2 separate regions of the Homo sapiens genome follow, and region 2 is linked to region 1. Evidence: promoter capture Hi-C in human tissues and cell types (Jung and others, 2019). All regions are on one chromosome and are shown on one strand. The core of a region is centred on a gene start or on the middle of the fragment in contact, and the rest is flanking DNA. Distances in the headings are between cores, read along the strand shown. Region 1 holds the start of JAK3 (Janus kinase 3). Region 2 holds the start of RAB3A (RAB3A, member RAS oncogene family).

The links. The method cuts DNA at HindIII sites, captures the fragments that hold promoters and counts their contacts. A contact is called where the count stands out against the background at its distance.
Region 2: a contact is called between the fragment with the promoter of RAB3A here and the fragment with the promoter of JAK3 in region 1, in 1 of the 25 tissues and cell types used here (spleen).

What each region holds. Positions count from the first base shown.
Region 1 is chr19:17,844,558-17,850,642 of GRCh38, reverse strand. It overlaps JAK3 (Janus kinase 3), which reads left to right and starts at 2,661. Exons shown (of 24, transcript NM_000215.4): 1 at 2,661-2,697. The HindIII fragment of the contact is 13,300 bases long and covers 1-6,085 here.
Region 2 is chr19:18,201,668-18,207,829 of GRCh38, reverse strand. RAB3A (RAB3A, member RAS oncogene family) reads left to right here and starts at 3,788. Exons shown (of 5, transcript NM_002866.5): 1 at 3,788-3,934; 2 at 5,090-5,317. The coding sequence starts at 5,090. It overlaps LOC102725254 (a long non-coding RNA gene), which reads right to left and starts at 3,100. Exons shown (of 2, transcript NR_134910.1): 1 at 2,931-3,100; 2 at 2,267-2,374. RefSeq lists silencers at 2,437-2,496, 3,382-3,771 and enhancers at 3,152-3,251, 3,437-3,731, 3,764-4,546. The HindIII fragment of the contact is 10,728 bases long and covers 1-6,162 here.

The DNA of each region.
Region 1 (6,085 bases), core at 1,412-3,911:
TTCCTGCCGCAGGTCAGCTGTGGCTCCACTAAGCTCCACTAAGCTGAGGACATAATCTATATCTCTTTCCCTTGACCCACGCGGCCCTACCCACGCCATCAAATGAGTCTCAGCCCCCCGTGTCCCTGACATCCTGCTCTTCTCAGGAACACTGTGAATTCGTGAAGCCTCCAGGCCTTTGCCTGGGCTGTTCTGCCTGCCAGAACTGCCCACACTCCCACATTCTCAGGTCACTCTCTGGCTAGTCCCACTTGTTGTTGGATTTCAGAATCAAAGCCACCTCCTCCAGGAAGCCCTCCCAGATCCAGTCATCTCTCTTAGCAGACCGGTCCCAGGGGCAACTGATATAATTATTGGGCAATAGCTTGTTTATTGCCATCTCCCCTGCTGGACTGTCAGCTCCCCTGGACAGGGATTGGGTCTGCATTGTCCCCGATTCCCTGCACACAGGCTGTGTCCAATAAGCCTCTGGCTGATTGAACAGTTAAGATCAACAAAATACTTACCAAACCATTTTGTGTTAAGACTTGTGATGGTGATACAGAGATGAAAAGTCTTTTTTTTTTTTTTTTTGAGACGGGATCTCACTCCCATTGCCCAGGCTGGAGTGCAGTGGCATGACCACAGCTAACTGCAGCCTCAACTTCCTGGGCTCAGGTGATCCTCCCACCTCAGCCTCCCCTAGTAGCTGGGACTACAGGCACATGCCACCACATCCAGCTTATTATTTTGTTGTTGTTGTATTTTTTGTAGAGACAGGGTTTCACCATGTTGCCCAGGCTGGTCTCGAACACCTGGGCTCAAGCCATCCTCCTGCCTGAGCCTCCCAAAGTGCTGAGATTACAGGTGTGAGCCACTGTTCTTGGCCACAACTTCTTAAATCTATTCCTTTTTTTTTTTTTGAGACAGAGTATTGCTCCGTCGCCCAGGCTGGAGTGCGGTGGCACAATCTCAGCTCACTACAACCTCCGCCTGCCTCCTGGGTTCCAGTGATTCTCCTGCCTCAGCCTCCCAAGTAGCTGGGATTACAGGCACATGCCACCACGCCCAGCTAATTTTTATATTTTTAGTAGAGATGGGGTTTCACCATGTTGGCCAGGCTGGTCTCGAACTCCTAGGCTCAAGCAATCTTCCCACCTGGGCCTTCCAAAGTGCTGGAATTACAGATGTGAGCCACTGTACCCGGTCACCACTTCGTCAGTCTATTCCTGAAGCTCTACTTCCGGGGCTCTGATCCTATTATCCTAAGAACACTGGCCCAAGTCTCTGCATTTGGATGCTGCCCGGGCCTTCTGCCTCTTCTATTTATAACAGCTCCTACTTCCAACTCTCCTGTGGCTCCAGATTATGCTCCAGGCAAAACCCACCCTTCTCCCAAAGACCCTGATCCCCCTGTCCCCCCACGATCTTGCCCCTGTTGACCGCCCTGCAGTCCCCTTCCCCCTCATCTCACCCCTGCCCCTGGCCTCCTGACTGCTCTTCAAGCTGCTAAGATCACTGCCCTCTCAAGGTCTTTGCCCATCCTGTGCCCTCCTCCTGGAGCACCCTTTCCCTGGCCAGCTCCCTGTCCTGCCTCGGGTCCAAGTTCCAGTCTGTGCCTGTCCTGACACCCTGGCTTTCTTTGTTGTCTGCGATGATTTGGCTCCTTCATTTGCTCATTGTCTCAGCGCCAGATCACAAGTTCCAAGAGGCCAGGCCGGATCCACCTGGTTTTTTAGGGCTGGGCCCAGGGCACCACAGGCAGAAATGGGTCATTATCTCTCCCTGAGTCTTTTCTTTTTTTTTTAAACGAAGTCCCGCTCTGTTGCCAGGCTGGAGTGCAGTGGCGCCATCTCGTCTCACTGTAACATCCGCCTCCTAGATTCAAGCAATCCTCCCACCTCAGCCTCCTGAGTAGCTAGGATTACAGGCATCACCAGGCCTGGCTAATTTTCCTGTTTTTAGTAGAGACAGGGTTTCATCATGTTGGCCAGGCTGGTCTCAAACTCCTGACTTCAAGTGATCCGCCCGCCTCAGCCTCCCAAAGTGCTGCGATTACAGGCCACCACGCCTGGCTAATTTTTGTATTTTTAGTAGAGACGGAGTTTCGCCATGTTGGCTAGGCTGGTCTCAAACTCCTGACCTCAAGTAATCGCCCGCCTCAGTCTCCCAAAGTGCTGGGATGACAGGCGTGAGCCACTGCGCCCAGCGTCTCCCTGAGTCTTAAGGGAGAAATACCTCAAAGAAGAACTTGACCTTCCTCTGGGGCAACTTCCCTGCTTCCCTCCTGGGCAAATCCAGCCAGGTTTCCTTCCCTGGGTGCAAAATTAGTTCCACTGGGTGCCCAACTCACACATGCTACAGATGGGTAAACTGAGGCAATAAGGGCCGGGCCAGAGCCCCACTTAACAAGTGGGTCTAGAGTCGGCTGAGCCCCTGGTGTGACCCAGACCCTTCTCTGTGCTATCATCAGTTCCTTTGGCTTAGGGGTCTCCAGCAGCCTGTCTGAACGGGGCGGCTGATGCAGAGGCTTCCGGAACTTTCTGCCCCTCCTTGCCCGCCTCCCCGCCCCCAGCTCCCGCAGGGCCCTGACTTTCGGTAAATGACAGTGGCTCAGGAAACCAAGGGGCCCACACAGGAAGGAGCCGAGTGGGACTTTCCTCTCGCTGCCTCCCGGCTCTGCCCGCCCTTCGAAAGTCCAGGGTCCCTGCCCGCTAGGTAAGAGCTGGCGATGCCGCAGGGCTCGGCCCAGACACTGGGGGAGGATGGTGGTGGCGGGGGATGGCTGGGCTGGGGCAGGGTGCTGCCAGGGCAAAGGCTAGCTCGCCTTCCAGGCCTCGGAGGAAAGCTGCGAGGCAGACGTGAGCCGAGACTCGCATCCTCCGATCGCTCGCTTCTCTGGGCTTCGGCTTTGACTAAGGCCGGGAGATGCCTGCCTTGCGGACCTGGAGGAGTCATTGCGCATGCGCGACGGGGGCTGCGGGGTTGGGGGTGGGGAGGAGGGATTGGGAAGGAGGGATTGGGGGGCGGAGTTCCCAGCCCCTACCCTCCAGGCCTTCCCGGTCCAGACACAGGGTACCCGACCATACCAGGATGCAGAACGTTGAGGATTATAAACAGGGGATGCCGAGGCGGGAGGATAGCTTGAGGCCAGGAGTTCAAGGCCAGCCTGGGCAACATAGCCAGACCTCCATTTCTACAAACATTTTTAAAAAACCAAAAAAACTATGGCGTTTTCTGGGACCAAACATCACCTCTGACTTTTCATTTTTTTTTGTTACAGTATTACAGAATAATAATATTCTGTTAAGATTTTTTTGTTGTTTTGGAGATGGGAGTCTTGCTATGTTGTTCAGGCAGGTCTCTAACCCCTGGCCTCAAGCTATCCTGCTGCCTCAGCCCCCTGAGTAGCTGGGATTGCAGTGGGGCGCCACTGCCACTGAAGCCTTATTTTAAACTCGACTGGGGCTGGGCACAGTGGCTCATGCCTTTAATCCCAACACTTTGGGAGGCTGAGGCCAGCGGATCACTGGAGGTCAGGAGTTCGAGATCAGCCTGGTCAACATGGTGAAACCCTATCTCTACTAAAAACACAAAAATTAGCCAGGTTTGGTGGCGGGTGCCTGTAATTCCAGCTACTCAGGAGGCTGAGGCAGGAGAATCGCTTGAACCTGGGAGGTGGAGTTTGCAGTGAGCCGAGATCATGCCACTGCACTCCAGCCTGGGAGACAGAACAAGAATCCGTCCTCCCCCCTACAAAATAAATAAATAAATAAAAAGGCTGGGCAATGTGGCTCACGTGTGTAATCACAGCACTTTGGGAGGCCAAGGCAGGCGAATCACCTGAGGCCAGGAGTTTGAGACCAGCCTGGCCAACATGGTGAAACTCCGTCTCTACTAAAAATACAAAAATTAGCTGGGCGCTGTGGTGCGCGCCTGTAATCCCAGCCACTTGGGAAGCTGAGGCATGAGAATCGCTTGAACCCAGGAGGCAGAGGCTACAGTGAGCCAAGATCGTGCGACTGCACTCCAGCCTGGGTGACAGTGCGAGACTCCGTCTCAAAAAAACAAACAAACAAACCAAAAAACTTGATTGGCTGATGTTGAGGGGACGATAGAGAGGCTATGGTGTGTGATTTTATTTCTATAAAGGGCAAAACTAGACATCAATCTCTCTGTGGGAGAGATGGGGCTCCTCCAAGGTTCCCGGGACTAGGAATGTGCTCATTCTTGGTCTGGGCATCGGTGACATCAAAGTGTCCCTTTGGTAAGGTTCTTTCCCCCACAAGACTTCCCTTCCCACAGTAACCACCACACCGCTGTGCCAATTGCCCTTCCTGTTTGGTTTAACAGGCGTTTGTTGATCGCTTACCGGCACATCATCAAGAAATATACAAATTAATGCACATTAATTGAGTTGACACTTTAGGCCTGGATTGCGCTCAGCAGACCACCTCAATGAGGATGCTGGGGAGTCAGCCCATTTCACAGCTGCGAAAGCTGAGTCCTAGGGGTCCTAGTCCTCTGATTGTCTTAAACCTCATTAGGCCAGGCGCAGTTTCTCACGCCGGTAATCCCAGCACTTTGGGAGTCCGAGGCAGGAGGATCACTCGAGGTCAGGAGTTCCAGACCAGCCTCGCCAACATGGTGAAACCCCGTCTCTACCAAAAATACAAAAATTAGCCGGGCATGGTGGCGTGCCCCTGTAATCCCAGCTACTTGGGAGGCTGAGGCAGGAGAATCACTTGAACCCAGGATGCAGAGTAAGCCGAGATTGTGCCACTGCACTCCAGCCTGGATGACAGAGCTAGACTCTGTCTCAAAACAAAAACAAAAAAACCCTCATTAATGCCGCCCCACCCCAGCCACAGGGCATTATTTTGGATCATAGTTTTTGTATTGTGTTTTTTTTCTAGAGATAAGGTCTTGCTCTGTCGCCCAGGCTGGAGTGCAGTGGTGTGATCATAGCTCAATGCAGCCTCAACTTGCAGAGCTGAAGGCATCCTCCTGTCTCAGCCTCCCAAGTAGCTAGGACTATGGGGGTGTGCCACCATGCCCTGCTAATTTTTTAGAGATGAGGTCTCAAAATCCTAGCCTCAAGTGATCCACCTGCCTCGGCCTGTCAAAGTGCTGGGATTACAAGGCTTTTTTTTCTTTTTGAGAGGAGGTCTCACTATATTGCCCAGTCTGGTTTCAAACTCCTGGTCTCGGCCAGGCGCGGTGGCTCACACATGTAATCCAGCATTTTGGGAGGCTGAGGCAGGCTGATCACTTGAGGCCAGGAGTTTGAGATCAGTGAAACCCCATCTCTACTAAAAATACAAGAAAATTAGCTGGGCGTGGTGGTGCCCACCTGTAATCCCAGCTACTGGGGTGGCTGAGGCACGAGAATCTCTTGAACTTGGGAGGCGGAGGTTGCAGTGAGCTGAGATTGCGCCACTGCACTCCAGCCTGGGTGACAGCGCGAGACTCTGTCTCAAAAAAGCAAAAAACATAAAACAAACTCCTGGTCTCAAGCTATCCTTCCTTCTTGGCCTCCGGAAATGATGGGATTACAGACATGAGCCACTGCGCCCTGCTGGAACTTAGGTTTTTGTTTGTTTTTCCCAACACTTTCTTCAGATCTTCTTCATTCAGGTCAATTTGAGTGACCTCCTTTTTCTCCCCAATTTTTCTCAGGGGACTCGAAGCCCCACCCCTGGCCCCACCCAGCTGAGGGCCCTGAGTGCTGAGGTTTCTCAGGGCAAGTGAGCGAGCGGGTGGGAGGTGTTGGGGGCTGGAAGCAGGGGGCCAGTTTCCTCCTGGGCCCATCCCAGGGAGGCTTTCCTTCTTTCTTTCTTTCTTTCTTTCTTTTTTTTTTTTTTTTTGAGACAGAGTCTGACTCTGTTGTCCAGGCTGGAGTGCAGTGGTACAATCTTGGCTCACTGCAACCTCTGCCTCCCAGGTTCAAGTGATTGTCCTGCCTCAGCCTCCCGAGTTGCTGGGATTACAGGAACGCACCACCACACCCGGCTAAGTTTTGCACTTTTTAGAGGCAGGGTTTCGCCATGTTGGCCAGGCAGGTCTCAAACTCCTGACCTCAAGTGATCCTCCCGCCTCGGCCTCC
Region 2 (6,162 bases), core at 2,539-5,038, 360 kb before region 1:
ATCACGAGGTCAGGAGATCGAGACCGTCCTGGCTAACAGTGAAACCCCGTCTCTACTAAAAATACAAAAAATTAGCCGGGCGTGGTTGCAGGCGCCTGTAGTCCCAGCTACTCGGGAGGCTGAGGCAGGAGAATGGCCTGAACCCGGGAGGCGGAGCTTGCAGTGAGCCAAGATCGAGCCACTGCACTCTAGCCTGGGTGACAGAGCGAGACTGTCTCAAAAAAAAAAAAAAAATTCATATTTTTTTCTTTCTTTTCTTTTCTTTCTTTCTCTGTCTTTCTTTTCTTTCCTTTTCCCTTTCTCTTTCTTTCTTTCTTTGCGTCTCGCCTTGTCGCCCAGGCGGGAGTGCAATGGTGTGATCTTGGCTAACTGCAACCTCCGCCTCCTGGGTTCAAACGATTCTCCTGCCTCAGTCTCCTGAGTAGCTGGGATTACAGGTGCCCACCACCATGCCCAGCTAATTTTTGTATTTTTAGTAGAGACTGGGTTTTCACCATGTTGGCCAGGCTGGTCTTGAACTCCTGACCTCATGATCCGCCTGCCTCGGCCTCCCAAAGTGCTGGGATTACAGGCATGAGCCACTGCACCCAGCCCTAGAATATTCATATTTCTTATAAATGAATATTCATATGTTCTCCTTCAGTTTGAGCCAAAGGCATTTGTCCCTCTCCTCTTACTGACTGCATCTGCTCTGGCCACACTGCAAGCCTGGTCCCACCACAGGGCCTTCAAACAAGCTGTTCCCACTACCTGGAATGCTTCTCTCTCAGCCCCCAGCCTCACCCATTAGATTTTTGTTTTTATTTTTGTTTTAGACAAAGTTTCGCTCTTGTTGCCCAGGCTGGAGGACAATGGCGTGATCTTGGCTCACTGCAACCTCTGCCTCCCGGGTTCAAGCGATTCTCCTGCCTCAGCCTCCCAAGTAGCAGGGATTACAGGCGACCGCCACCATGCCCGGCTAATATTTAGTAGAAATGGGGTTTCACCATGTTGACCACGCTGGTCTTGAACTTCTGACCTCAGGTGATCCACCCACCTCGGCCTCCCAAAGTGCTGGGATTACAGGCATGAGCCACCACACCTGGCCCCCACACTGGGTTTTAAGTTAGTGTCTTCTTCCCCGAGAAGTCGTCCCTGGACCCGTATCTGGGATACTTTTTTTTTTTTTTCTTGAGACAGAGTCTCCCTCTAGCACCTAGGCTGGCGTGCAGTGGTGCCGGTGATCTCAGCTCACTGCAACCTCCGCCTCCCTGGTTCATGCGATTCTCATGCCTGGGCCTCCTGAGCAGCCTCCTGGGACAGGCACCACCACACCGGGCTAATTTTTGTATTTTTAGCAGAGATGGGGTTTCACCATGTTGGCCAGGCTGGTCTCGAACTCCTGACCTCAAGGTCAAGGAGTGATCCTCCTGACTCGGCCTCCCAAAGTGCTGGTATTACAGGCATAAACCACCGCACCTGGCCACATTTTTATTTTTATTTGTCTAGTGTAGACGATAGGGTAGGGATGCAGGGAAGCCTCTGGACTTTCCTCTGAGTGGGACCGGCCTGGAAGCCTAGCCCGTTCTCCCACCAGCTCTGTCTCCCCTGACACAAAGAAAATACCCCAATCCCGCAGCCCCTCCCCCAGCTCAACCATTTCTAATTCCAGAGCCCAATGCTGCTCTGGACAATCAAGGGCTTGCATTCTTTTTAAATTTAAATTAAGTAATTAATTTTTTGAGACAGCGTCTCACTCTGTCGTCCAGGCTGGAGTGTAGTGGCGCGATACGGTTTCCTACAGCCTCGACCTCCTGAGCTCAAGTGATCCTCCTACTTCAGCCTCGGGAGTATTTGGGTCCACAAGCACGCGACACCACATCCAGCTAATTTTTAAATTTTTTGTAGAGATGGGGCCTCCCTATGTTACTCAGGCTGGTTTCCAATTCCTGGGCTCAAGCGATCCTCCCGCCTTGGTCTCCCAAAGTGGTGGGATTACAGGCGTAAGCCTCCGCACCCGGCTATTTTTACTTTAAAATACTAAGTCAGTGACGGAAGCTTCCGCACATTCTCGTGGCTCACTTTTCTCTTCCTGGGGAAAAAAGGCAGGAGGTATTTCCGAGAGAGCCACCCATGTAGGAAGCGTGCCTTTGGGCGATCAGGGAGCTGAGCAACCGAAAAACCTCCCCTCCAAGGAGGCGGCAGGCCAGGGCCTGGACCAGCTGCCCTGGAGCCCCCCACAGAGCACGGACTACCGCGTGGGCGCGGAGGGCAGGGAGAATGGGAGGTGGATTTCTTTTTATTTTTTGTTTTTCTGAATTTTCCCAATTTCTCTGCAGTGGATTGGTGATACTTCTATAGTCCGAGTGGGGGAGGAGGGAGCAAACATGTTACCCTAAAAAGAAAAAATAAATTTCCCAAATGTAAACGGTGCGGGGACGTGGGGGTGGGCGTCCCAGTACTCCCAGGGCACTGGGGGCGGGCTGGGGACTGGGTTGGCGGCGGCTGGGCCTCGAGGCGCTAAGTTATTCTGGTCTCTCGGCGCCTCCGCAGCTGGCGAGCTTTTTATAAACAGGACGAGTCACCCCCCGCCACACACACACGCTCCAGCCCCGCCTACTGGGAGGGGTGGGGGGAGAATCTAGGGGATCAGGACTCTCCTGGGGGCCACACACCCCTGGAGGGTTTGAAAGCTGGAGTAGGGGGAGCAGGAGACCCAAAGTGGGGGCTGGGGTTTCGGGCTCCTCCTCCCTCCCCAAATTCTGACTTCCTTCCCTAAAGATTTGGAGGAATAAAAGATGGACCATCTTAGCTCCCAAAAGGCTCCATCCTCTGAGTTTTGCTTTCCCAGGATGGAGGGAGGGGGTCTCCCAGCCCCCGGGTCTTTGAATCCGAGCTTTGAAGAGCTGGAGGCTTCGGCTCGTGCCCTCCCTGTTTCCCGGGGCATTTACCGCAGGCTTTAAGGGGTTTCCGGGACAGGTCGCTTCTCTGTCCCTGCTAAACCTTTTCTTCGAATTTTCTTCTTGATGACGGGGCGCAGGGAGGGGAGGGGGTTCCCAGAGAGTCCATCAGCCCCTTCCTCCTTTTCTGGGAATGGTGGGGAGGGGAGGCTCTCTTGACCTCTACTTCTTTCTTTTCAAACCTCAGAAACGGGGGAGGGGTGGAGTCTTTACTAGCCCCTCCCTCAGTGGGGGGGTCTTACGCCTCGGGAATGGGACAGGGGTCCCTCTTGACTCCTGTTTATTCTTTGGTATTTATTTTGAACCCCATATATGTGAGGGTATAAAACATCTCTTGGGCCTCGATTTTTCTTTTCTGCAATTGGGAGTCAGGGGCATTTAACAGGGGTCACAGCACCTTGGACTAGACGGTGGCCTCAAGAGTCCCCTACCTGGGGTGGGTGCGGGCGGGTAAGGGAACCGCCCCTCGAAGACCGGGGCTCAGCCAAGGCCTCAGCCTCTCGGCCCTTCAATCTCCCAGATGCCACCATTGGACAAGAGGAGGGCGTAGACAATCTCTGATTGGCTACTTCGCCCGTCGCTCGAGAGCTTAAGCCAGTGAGAGAACGCTGAGGGGCCCCGCCTCCCCGAGGCGGACAGGAGGCGGACGAGAGGCGGAGTCGGCCCCCGCGCCGCTCCCGCCCCTACTGGATGCACACGCTAGGCCCCGCCCCATTTGCACGTCAATCTGCTCAGGAGCCCTGCCCCATCTGGCTCTGCGTGCGTCAATGGGCCACATCTCTACGCGCGGCTCCGCCTCCGGATGGCGTCACGGACTTATCTACATGTGAGGCTCCGCCCCTCCCTTTGCAGGACGTCACGGAGGACTGCAGGGGCCTGAGCCGCTGCTGCCGCCGCCGCCGCGCAGCCCCACATCAACGCACCGGGGTCCTGTCACCGCCACCGCCAAAAAAGTCACCGCCGCTAGGGTCGCCGTTGCATCGGTGCAGGGCAAGGTGAGCTCCTGGGCGGCCGGGTGTGCTCAGGCTCCGAGCACCTGCATAACCTTCATTTGACTGATGGGCTGATGGAGGTGGGGGACGAGGTTGACTAGGGTTGAATGGGGGGAAGGATGCGGCGGTCGCGAGGCTGGGAATGGGTAGGGCCCGGGCGCCCCACTCCTGCCTGATCCTCACCACTAACCCCCCCAACCCCCCTGCTCTGCGGCGGAGGGGGAGGGGAGCCGAGCTCCTTGCGGGAAGCTGTGCGCGCGGGAGGCTTTTGCGTGCGCGTGCGCGTGGTGTGCACACGCGTGTGCGCGCCTGCCTGTGTCAGCGGGTCTGTGTGCACCCTTGCTTGTGTACCTGGATATGCTCGTGTGACGCCGTGGGGGTCTGGGCCTAAGTGTGTGAGCGTTGCACGCGCGTGGAGAAAGACGTGTGGACCGCCTGTGCAGGTATGGCCCGTGCATACAAGCACGGGGATCCGTGTCCGTGTGGGTGATGTGCACACGCCTGCATGGGTGGAGGGGCCTGTGCGCACGGGTGGTTTGCACATTTCTATAGGCGAGTCGGTGTGCAAACAGGTGTCTGTGTCTTTGTCCTGTGCACCTCAGTGCGTTCACACACTCCTGTATGTACGGATGAGCGTGTTTGAGGCTGTGTGCACGTGAGCGTGTGCATGCCCCTCCTGTATCATGTGATGCAGCGGCCTTGGCCGGAGCTCTCCGGCCTGGAGGTTTGCGGGGAGCGGGGGCTGCAGATGCGCGTCCTCGAGGGACCATGCACGCGGTGCACGTGGGGCCGCGCGGCCGGGTTCTGAGGACCATGAAAGATTGATGGGGGGCGGAGCCAGCCGCAGTCACCCCCTCCGGGCTCAGCCCTGGGTTTAGGGTTACAGCCCCACCTGGGGCACCTGCCCCTTGAAGGGGGCTGCTGGGGTGTCCCCATCGGCAACCCTCTGAGCCCCTCCTCTGAAACGCCCAGGATTTCAAGGTCACAGGCTGCCCTCTGCTGGGGGCACCACCAATTAATACTGGGGCTCCTGATGGGATAAGGGTGTCCTCCATACACCGGCCGTTTTCTGGAGCCCTTGCCATCTTCTGCCTGGGCTTGGGCACATGAGGATGGAGAGAGCCCCCCTCACGGCTCTGCTACACCCGGTATCCCCAGATGGCATCCGCCACAGACTCGCGCTATGGGCAGAAGGAGTCCTCGGATCAGAACTTCGACTACATGTTCAAGATTCTCATCATCGGCAACAGCAGCGTGGGCAAGACGTCCTTCCTCTTCCGCTATGCTGACGACTCGTTCACGCCTGCCTTCGTCAGCACCGTGGGCATCGACTTCAAGGTCAAGACCATCTATCGCAACGACAAGAGGATCAAGCTGCAGATCTGGGTGGGTCCCAGCTGGAGGGCTCCCGCCCGGCTCGGTTGGATTCCCGTACTTGGAAAAGCAGCCCCAACCTCGTCTATCTCTTTCCTGACTGGAGTCATTCACTTACACACTGGGCATTTATCAGTAAGGTGCCCACTGTGTACCGGGGCAGAAACAGCACCTGTGTTCTCCCATAAGCACCTAATCCTGGTCCCTCAGTTTCCCCATCTTCAAGTTCTTCCATGTATGAGGTTTCAGCTGGATCTTGGTCCCCATTCTCTTTTTTTGTTTGTTTTTTGAGACAGGGTGGTCTTGCTCTGTCCCCTAGGCTGGAATGCAGTTACGTGATCACGGCTCTCTGCAGCCTCGACTTCCCAGGCTCAAACCATTCTTCCACCTGAGCCTCCTGAGTAGCTAGGACCACGGGCTTCTACCACCACGCCTGCTGATTTTTTTCTTTTTTGTAGAGACAGGGTCGGGCTATGTCTGCCCAGGCTGGTCTTGAACTCCTGGGCTCAAGCGATCCTCCCACCTCAGCCTCTCAAAGTGCTAAGATTACAGGCATGAGCCACCCCACCTGGCCTTGTTAGTTTTAAGAGACAGAGTCTCACTCTGTTGCCCAGGCTGGATTTGAACTCGTGGGCTCAAGCAATCCTCCCGCCTCAGCTTCCCAAGTAGCTGGGAGTACAGGCAAGTGTCAGCTTCCTTTAATTTTTAAACCTACAGTTAAATTCTCTCCATCTTCATCTGGCTTGATTTTTCTCCTTGGTCCTTGTCACTCTCCAATATAGGATACATTTATACCGTTATTTTCTATTTCCCACACTGAGTGTCACTTAGCAAGGGAAGTGCCCATCTTGTTAACA